Regions from separate parts of the Homo sapiens genome. Here region 2 is linked to region 1. Evidence: promoter capture Hi-C in 16 types of primary human blood cells and fetal thymus (Javierre and others, 2016). All regions are on one chromosome and are shown on one strand. The core of a region is centred on a gene start or on the middle of the fragment in contact, and the rest is flanking DNA. Distances in the headings are between cores, read along the strand shown. Region 1 holds the start of RASGRP1 (RAS guanyl releasing protein 1). Region 2 overlaps FSIP1 (fibrous sheath interacting protein 1).

What was found. The method cuts DNA at HindIII sites, captures the fragments that hold promoters and counts their contacts. A CHiCAGO score of 5 or more calls a contact.
Region 2: a fragment that was not itself captured here is called in contact with the fragment with the promoter of RASGRP1 in region 1 in 8 of 17 cell types (total CD4 T cells, total CD8 T cells, naive CD8 T cells and 5 more); the score reaches 13.8 in total CD4 T cells.

Annotation. Positions count from the first base shown.
Region 1 is chr15:38,561,864-38,566,632 of GRCh38, reverse strand. It overlaps RASGRP1 (RAS guanyl releasing protein 1), which reads left to right and starts at 1,819. Exons shown (of 17, transcript NM_005739.4): 1 at 1,819-2,039. The coding sequence starts at 2,005. RefSeq lists enhancers at 1,213-1,402, 1,244-1,755, 4,138-4,237, 4,298-4,427 and silencers at 1,613-1,662, 1,823-2,062, 2,093-2,312, 2,323-2,522. The HindIII fragment of the contact is 3,108 bases long and covers 1-2,839 here.
Region 2 is chr15:39,756,577-39,760,802 of GRCh38, reverse strand. The region is part of intron 5 of FSIP1 (fibrous sheath interacting protein 1); the gene reads left to right. Among named protein-coding and RNA genes, the nearest start is that of FSIP1, 24 kb to the left of the region's middle. The HindIII fragment of the contact is 1,112 bases long and covers 1,392-2,503 here.

The sequences.
Region 1 (4,769 bases), core at 570-3,069:
ATTGAAAGTGTAAATATTATAGATTTAAGTAGGGTAAAGAGCTCATTCTGTAGTAGAGGGGTCAGTGAAAAGTAATTGTTCACCTGGTAATAAGAGAAGATCTCTGTGAACAAAGTCTAAGACTGCAAACTTAGGACTGTTGGGAGATAGTCAGATAGATTCATATATAGATACAAATCTTTACCATCCTCAGACATCCGCCAACTTGGTTGTTTAGGTTGTAGGGCTTACATGAGGAAGGGTGTATAATAGATAACTCTAAAAATGTTTGAGCCTTAGACCCAGTGAGTGAGAAAGAGTGTCATCATTTAATATTCTCCTGACATTCACCTGCCCCTTCTGCATCTGTGGCTGTGACTGAGGACTTGGTTCTTTATATCACCCAGTGTTCATGAGGATTCTCTGGAGAAATTTCTTGCTGGTCTCAGTATCAAGAAAGGGGGATCTTCTCTTGAGCAATTTTGTTTTTGGTCTTGCATGTGATAGGAATTGAACTTTAGACAAGGCCTCTCTTTAAACTTGACTGCTAGAAATGCAGGAGACAAATTTTGGTCCCACCTGTAGCAAGGGTATTTGACTCTATGAGATGCATTTATTTCAAATGATGTTCATTTTTGGCTCCATCTTGTGTGCCTCATTTTTCATTTCACACACTTCTTTTTGTAGGTTATGTGCTCTTGTAAGCTATCTCGAATTCTGTTTTAAGGACAAGGTAGCATATAAATATAAGGAAATATATAAATGAAACAGAGGAAGGCTTTAAAGTCCAGAACACTATGGCCAGGAAGACAACTATGACTGTGGCTAGAGTTATGGTCTGTGGCCGTGATAATGAGTGTGTTATTAGGGCAGTCCAGCAGTGATTACAGGGAGTCAGACAGACCTCAGTCCAAGTCAGAGGTCTCTCTGCTGTTTATTAGTTGTATGATCTAAGGCATAGCATTCTCTAAACCTTCATTTTCTCATCTTTACAACAGTGATCTCTTTGTATCAGGGAGAGTGGATTAAATGAGGTAATGTATAGAAAGCACTTAGCACAACCGCACTCAATCATTAGCTATTGAGATTATCAGCACTATCACCTGGACAAGCAGCGGATGGGCCGCCCCTCTTGGCCAGGTCTTCTGTGCGCACTGACGTTGTATGAAAGTTGTCCCCACATCTCCTACACCCACCGACGCCAGGCGGCCGCGTCTGGGCCAGATATGGATCACGCCTGTGGAGCGCACCTCCACACAGGCAGCCCTCGTCCAAGGTGCAGGGCGCAGGGCACAGGGCACATGTCTACGGCCCAGTCCTGCAGACGGCTACCTAGAGACCCCAGGGCACAGGTTAAGGCAACTTCACAACTGTCTTTCCGTTCCTTTCCCCTGCCGGACTCCGCGCTCTGATATATACAGGAGAGGCCCTGGAGGGGAGAAGGCGTCCTCACTGCAGTGCTCCGAGCAGCGGCCGCAGGAAGAGGCGTGGAAGCTGCGGGTCGGCTGCGGGAAAGGGGGTCCCATGGGAGCCGCTAGGCGCAGCCCGTTTCCCGAGCTGAGGTGGAGGTCGACGGGCACAGGTGCCCTGCAAGGCGCGGGCGTGGTAGCCGGGAGCCCGCTCCTCTCCAACTCCCCTGAGACTTAACCCTTTGGCCAAGAGAGGTCGAAGGCGGGCAGGGGTGAGAGAACCGCGCGAGGCGCAGGCCGGGGCACCCGCGGAAAGGGGGCAGGTTTCGGGGAAGAGCGGCGGGGCGCCGCACGTTTCCTGCAGCCGCCAGCATCAGCGTGTCAGGTGGTTGCCAGGCGGGTGTGAGCGCGCGCGCGAGGCAGAGGGGGCGCGCTCGCACAAAGTTTGTGCCTGCGGTGCACCTCGGTCGGGCTCGCCGGGCTCGAGGGCTGGCGGGCGCCGGGGCTACGAGGCCCGGGGGGGAGAGAGCCGGCAGGCGGCGGCGGTGGTGGCGGGGGCGATGCGCCGCGCCCGGCCGCGCTAGGTGAGCCGGCACCGGGAGCGCGGGCCGCGGCCATGGGCACCCTGGGCAAGGCGAGAGAGGCTCCGCGGTGAGTAGAGGCGGCCGTGGCCCTCGGGAGCGCCTGTGTCCTTTCTTGGGAAAGAGGCCCCTGCCCGTCGCCCCAACACCCCGAGGGAAGTTGAGGGCGGAGGGGGGCCGGGGTCGGCCGGAGTCCCGGGACACCAGCGCGACGGGCGGACGTGTCCAGAACGCCCGGCGCGCTGCGCCCGGGGTTTCGGGGAGGGAGCTGGGGCTGAGGGGTGGTAGAGGGGCGGCCGCGAGGCCAGAGCTCGTCCGGTGAGATCTGCTAGGGCCGAAGCTCTTCGCGGAGCCGGCGCCCGCCCGCCGACTTCCTCCCCCACATCTCCACGCCCGGCATCGGGACTCCCACTCGCGGACTTTCCGCGCTGCCCGCACCTGCTGGGGCGCTGGGCTCCGGCTGCGCCACCTGGTGGCCCCTCCCGGCCCTGCCCAGAACGGCCGAGGAGCTTGCAGGGAGCCCGCAGAGGTGGCACCCCTCGGTTGCCCCTGCCCCACGGAAGTTTCCAGATCCGTGGGTCAGGGAAACATATCGCCTTCCGTATGGGAAGCTGCACTCCTCTCCCCCTCACTATGATTCTATAGAGGGTCTTGGATAACAGAAGTTGAAGAAAGAGGGACAGTGAGTGAAAGGGCTCTTGGCCAGGCAGCTTTGAGTTTGTAGCCAAAGGACCAGAACTAGGCAACTGCATGAACAAAGGCCTGGCCTCGGCGTAGGGGCTGGACAAGTTGTGCACTTCACAACTCCATTCACATCGACACTGATGGGACTGTGCCTTGCACCACCATACCCAGTAGCGGCAGGAAGCTTGCGATGCTGGACTTCCCGTGCTTATAATCCCAGGAACGAAGGATTCTTGGCCCTGTATGCACGCCCTGCCTCTCCCCATCCAGGTATCCCCTGAGGGTCCACCACTGTACTTTGCACTAGATTCAGAAGGAGGAGTTCAGTACATTAAATTGAGTATTGTAAGGGGAAGAGGACGGGACTGGAAGGAATCCATACTAGAAGTCAAGAGAGTCACCTTCCACTGCAAAGAAAGTTGTGGAAGTTCCAGTTCCCTTGCTCCATTTCATCTCTTACTTTTCTAGGCGGATTTCATAAAAAGCTCAGCCTGAAACTGACCTCCACTGAGATACCTATGCCTGGAGAGGATTTCACCTAAACCAGTTTAGAGTTTTGACGGTCTCCTTCAGCAAACCTATGGGGCTTTGGTTACTTTTAGGCTTGGAAAACACCTTCAAGTTAATTTGTTTCTCTCGGGGTTTTGGTTTTTTCATTTACAGGAAAACATTTGGCTACTGTATTTTTTTAAAAAATATGCCTTTACAGACTCAGAGGCCATTCATTCTATGGATTGTTAAAACACCTTCGACCTGCCTATAATAGAGCATTTTATAAATCCTTGTCTACTCCCATTTCACCAGAAAAGGCAGAACGATTTGAGGATTTTTCACAAGGCAACCAGTTAAGAGACTGTACAGCAAGAAAGCCAGGTTTCCTAGTCTATGGTGCAGATAATCCCCATCTTCTTAGAACTCTGAGGCTGCACTTTGGCTTTTAGTACTTTCTCTTCTCCCTGTTCTCTCATGGCCTAGTCCTCTGAGTCTCTCTGGGCTCCATACTTCCCAGATTGCTTTTGTCACCCTTTCTTCCCTTTTACTACCCTATACTTTACCCTGATCCCTTCTAGTTCTGGTAAAAGCATCAACCTTCAAGAATCCACTTATGAAACAAAGCGGTTTCTCTTACTGGTGACACTAGGAAACTTTACCAGAATTAGAAAACAGGGCAGGATTAGGAGTCTTGAATGGTCAGTGTCACCAACCAAGAAAGAAAATGGAATTTTCCTTGGATCTGTAGCCACCTCCCCTCCACCCCTAGCAGGAAGAGCTCTGTCAGTAGATAGAGCCTCTAGTTGCAGTTGCCTCTTCTCCAAGGTCTAGGGAGAAGTATTGTGGAAGGCCTGAGAGAAGGAGACTTCTACAATGAATGACTTTATTTTTTTAAAACCTTTCCCCTACTCTGCCTTTGGTGGAGGTCTTAATGGTGACAAAGGCAGCAGCTGGGGCAGAAAGCTGAGTAATCCCAGCAGTGGCTATGTAGCCCCAGGTGTAGAGAGTTGTTAGTGCTTCCAGGAAGGGAAGGGCGCCCACCTGGGGCGCACTGCATGGGCCACAAGGGGCTGGCTTCTAGCCTGTCTCTGCAGTGGTGGCCAGGCACGTTGCTCTTCTGATTCTGGACCTCCACACTGTAGAAGGGGGCTTTGGAAAATGACCATAAAGAGTCTGTCCAGCTCTAGGGACCTGAGGACAGTTCTGAGGGCCTGCAAGAGGAATATGGGCTGAGATTCAGCCTTTACATTACCAGTTATGCTTTTGAAGGATTTTGCTTTCATTTTAAATTGAATTGACCTTTTCAGCCTCTCTGTGATTGTCTACTACTAATCCTGATGTTGTGAAATGTGCAGAGTTCCAGGCACAGTCAATATTTATTAAATGAATAAAGCCAGAGAGGTGCTGGGTACAAATCTCAGGTTGATTATATATGAGTTTTATAACCTTGGCTATGTCATTTACCCTTTTTTAGATTCAGTTTCAGTGTCATGAGATGGGGATAACATCCTTCTGGGCTGTAAGCCTCAAGACAGGGTCAGTCCCCAGCACGGTACCTGCCATAGCATAGGTACTCAATTCATGTCACCATTATTATTTTGCTTTTAGAGACTGATCCAATTCT
Region 2 (4,226 bases), core at 698-3,197, 1.2 Mb before region 1:
GTATAATACCATTAATTAAAGTATAGACTTTCTTAAAAATTTACCAGTTTTCCCACTAATGTCCTTTTTATTTACTAGTATCCAATCCAAGATCCCATGTTACATTTCGTTGTCATGTCTCCTTAATCTCCTCCAATCTGTGATAGTTCCTCAGTCTTTCCTTGTCTGTCGTGATGTTGACCCTTTGGGAGAGTATTGGTCAGCTATTTTGTAAAATGTCCTTCAGTTTTGGTTTATGTGATGTTTTCTCATGATTAGATGAAAGTTATGAATTTTGGCAAGCATACTCTGGAAGTTATGTGCCCTTCTCAGTCAATCACACTTGGTATACCTAATGCTGTTATATATTATTATTGGTAATGTTTCACCTTGATCACTTTGTTAAGATGGTGTCTGCTGGTTTTCTGCACTGTAAAATTACTATTTTTTTCTTTTACAATTAATACATATCTTGGGGGAGATGCTTTAAGACTATGCAAATATCCTGTTTCTTCTCCAGCTTTCACCTACTAATTTCAGCATCAATCAGTAGATCTTGCCTGCAATAATTTTTACCATATGCCACTAGATTTGGGTGATTTTGTAATCCAACAATAGATAACTGGAACAATGTGCATCAGCATTATTTTTAATGATTATATATTAATTCATTAGATGGATGTGCCATCATTTGTTTAACTAATACCCTTCTATTGAACATTTAGATTATTCCCTTAGTTTTTCAATTTTTTAAATTACACATGTTGCAGTGACATCCTTAGTCAATTATTGCAATGATTACCTTCTGTGGTTGGCTGAAAAAAATCCACCCCAATCCCCCAAGAGATATCTATGTCAAATCCCTAGAGCCTGTGAATGTTACCTTATTTGGAAAAAGGGTCTTTGCAGATGTGATTAAGTCCTGGAATATTGAGATGGGCCCTAAATTCCATCATAGGTAGCCTTATCAGAAAGAGATGGAGGGAGAAGAGGTAGATAAGGAAGAGGAAAAGGTGCTGCAAAGACGGAGGCAGAGATTGGAGTGATGCAGCCTCAAGCCTGCTGGCAACCATCAGAAGCTGGAAGAGGGAGGAACAGAAATTCCTCTAGAACCTCTGGAGGGAACGTGGCCCTGCTGACATCTTGATTCTGGATTTCTGGCCTCCAGAACTGTGAGAGAATAACTTCTGTTGTTTGAAGCCACCAAGTTTGTGGTAATTTGTTAGGGCCGCTATAGAAAATGGGTATACTTTCAAATACATTCCTAGAAGAGAAATACTTAGTCCAGGGTTGGACTTTCACAAGATTTTTATTCACATTGACTTATTGAAATCAATTTAGACTCTTACCCACATTGTATCTGAATATTATTTTTCTATGCCAACGATGGATTTTGTAGTTATTTTTAAGCTTTGTTTATTTAAAGTGGAATCACAATAATTTGTATTTCTCTGATTATCAGGGAGGTTATAGATTTATTCTTTGGTTTAGCTAAGTTGTGAGTTACCTACTCATGTCTTAGTCTCTTTTATAAAGTGAGGTATTCTTTATTGATTTGAAAGACTTTTTTAATATTAAGGATATTAATTATTTGTCACAAACACCATAAGCATTTTTCTAACTTTTTTTTTAATTTTGTGACATTTCTTGCTCTAGTTAGTCATTTCTTTTATGTTATCATTCATTGGTACTCTGCTTTAAAAGGCCTTTTATGTCTCAAGATTGTATAAAAAATATATATTTTCCTTTCATCAGTTATAATTTAATGAAAAAATTTAAATATTAACCCACTTGAGATTTATTTTGGTATTAGATATGAGTTAGAGAGTTGATTTTGTTTTTTTCCCCCAATTTGCTAACCAGCTATTCCAAGACCCTTTATTGGATAATCTGTCATTTCCCCACTTATTTGAAATGCTAGCTTTATCGTGTAGGAACTGGGTTTATTTTCAGATTTTCTATTTTATTCCATTAAAATTTCTGTCTGTGCTGATGTTAATACCACTCTATTTTGATTATTGTGTCTTTGTAATATATTTTATTGGGGCAGTATTTTGGAATAACATGGTTTTCTCAAACCTATTTTTTTTCTGAGTTTAGCAATGACTACATTATTTTTTAAAAAAGAGATTGTAAAAGCACCTCTAAAGCTATAGCTTATGAACTGCTTTTTTATTTATTTAAATGTCTAAAGACCAGTATATGAACGTAGTCTGCTTGGAAAAGTACAACTTACTAATATATTTCATTCAATGTTTATCAGTAATTCTATACCTTCATAGAAATGAGACTATACCCCTTATTCCCCCCCCTCAAAAAAATCCATGGACAGTGTCAGGAATGAGATTCTGGATATTATAGTATCTCAATGTCTATAGTTTGGAAACCAGGAGTCAAATACTGATTTTTCTAGTGGGTAGGGCTTTTCTGAAAGACCAAACCTGCTTGTGGTTGACTCTGGAGCAAGCAATGTAAGACAGGCCACTCTGTAAGTGGATCTATGGTGGCCTTTTAACATTAAGCTTTTCGGTCACAGAGTTCACTACCCAGTGAACTTTTGGTCCTGGAAGGCAAGACATTTGTTTTCAGTTGCCCTTTTTTCAAAACCAAATCAAAACTGTCAAATATGTTTAATTTTTAAAGCTCCTGGCCCGTATATTTGACTTAAATCTATGCTCACATTGTATTTCTGGAGTTATGTGACTGCTGTAGGCCCTGTAGACACTTCCCATAATGTTAGATTAGTCCTGATGTTCTAACATGGAAATTAAGTGGACTTAATGATATGAAAGCTGGAGCTGCAAGGGGCTTGAAAGCTATGTTAAGAGAGAATCATTGTTTTAAACATGATGACATTATTAAAGCTTCAATTTTTAGATTCAGACTTCTTAGTTATTATGTATTGGCAGTGTGTGCAAAGCAGGTAAGATGCAAAAGTAGGGTCAACGTAAAAGGAAAAGGGAATACAAGATACTGTTAGGTGAACCAGATGTCTGTTGCACTTCACTCTTGCTACTGACTGTCTTAATTAGTTCACACTTGACCAGTTCACCAAAATGAAGAGGTAACATTATTGTATTACTGGCTTCTTCAGATTTAATTAGAATCTTTTTTTGATGATTGTTCTTTTACAGAAAAGCCAAATTCCTTAATGAAATTTCCTGCTTGCTGTTTACTTCATAGACATATGTTTTGGAGTCATTTATTGCCACACATATCTGTTTTTTTTAAATTCTTAAAAACAAAAAAGTAGTTAGCATTTACTTTAGGCTGCATTATTAACCTAATTATATTAATTTGTTTTTTGGACTACATAACTATTACCTTATTCTAAAAGAGGAAACTTTTGGAATAATCAGCTTAAACTTGGTATTATTAGCAGAATATTTTCACTGCAAGTATGAAAGAAATAATTAGAAACACAACAGTCCAGTTTGACCTCATGCCACGGATTTTTTGAAAGTCTCATATTCCTGGTATTTCAACATAAGCACTATCATAAGGTGGTACGAAGCTACTTTCATCTGTTCTACAATGAAATGAATTTCCCATTACTCATTAGATCTCAGCTACTGTTTTAATTAGAAATGTATAAAAATTTAAAAATTATTTTAATCAATCATATATAGCCATACATTTCTAAATAAGATATTTTTATAAGTATTATTAGGAAAACAGGAAAATTTTGCCTTTTTTTCCTGTATAATTTTTTGTTGCCAGCACAGTTTCAGGCACTTGTAAATTGTCCAGTAGGTGGCAGCATCTAGTTACAATAAGTACTTTAAAAAGCCTTAAAGCATTTAAAAAAATTTTAAAGCTCCTGGCATACATTTTTGGCTTAAACCTATAGAGTTCACATTGTATTTCTGGAGTCATGTGACTGCTCTACACCCTGCAGACACTTCTTGTAATGTTAGATTAGTCCTGATGTTCTAACATGGAAATTCAGTGGACTTAATGATGTGAAAGCTGGAGCTGCAAGGGACTTGAAAGCTATATTCAGAGAGAATCATTTTAAGCATGATCACGTTATTAAAGCCAGACCTATTTCAGCATACCTATCAATATACCCAAACCTACTTTCTTTCTTTTCATTTTTTGTCTTTAAACAAAGGGAGAAATTCTTAGGATGGATATTTTTCTTTTCTAGTCAGTTTTTCTTATCCTCTTATTTAAGAGTTAGCTTCAGGTTGGGTGGGTGGTTCATGCATGTAATCCCAGCGCTTTGGGAAGTGGAGTCAGGAGGA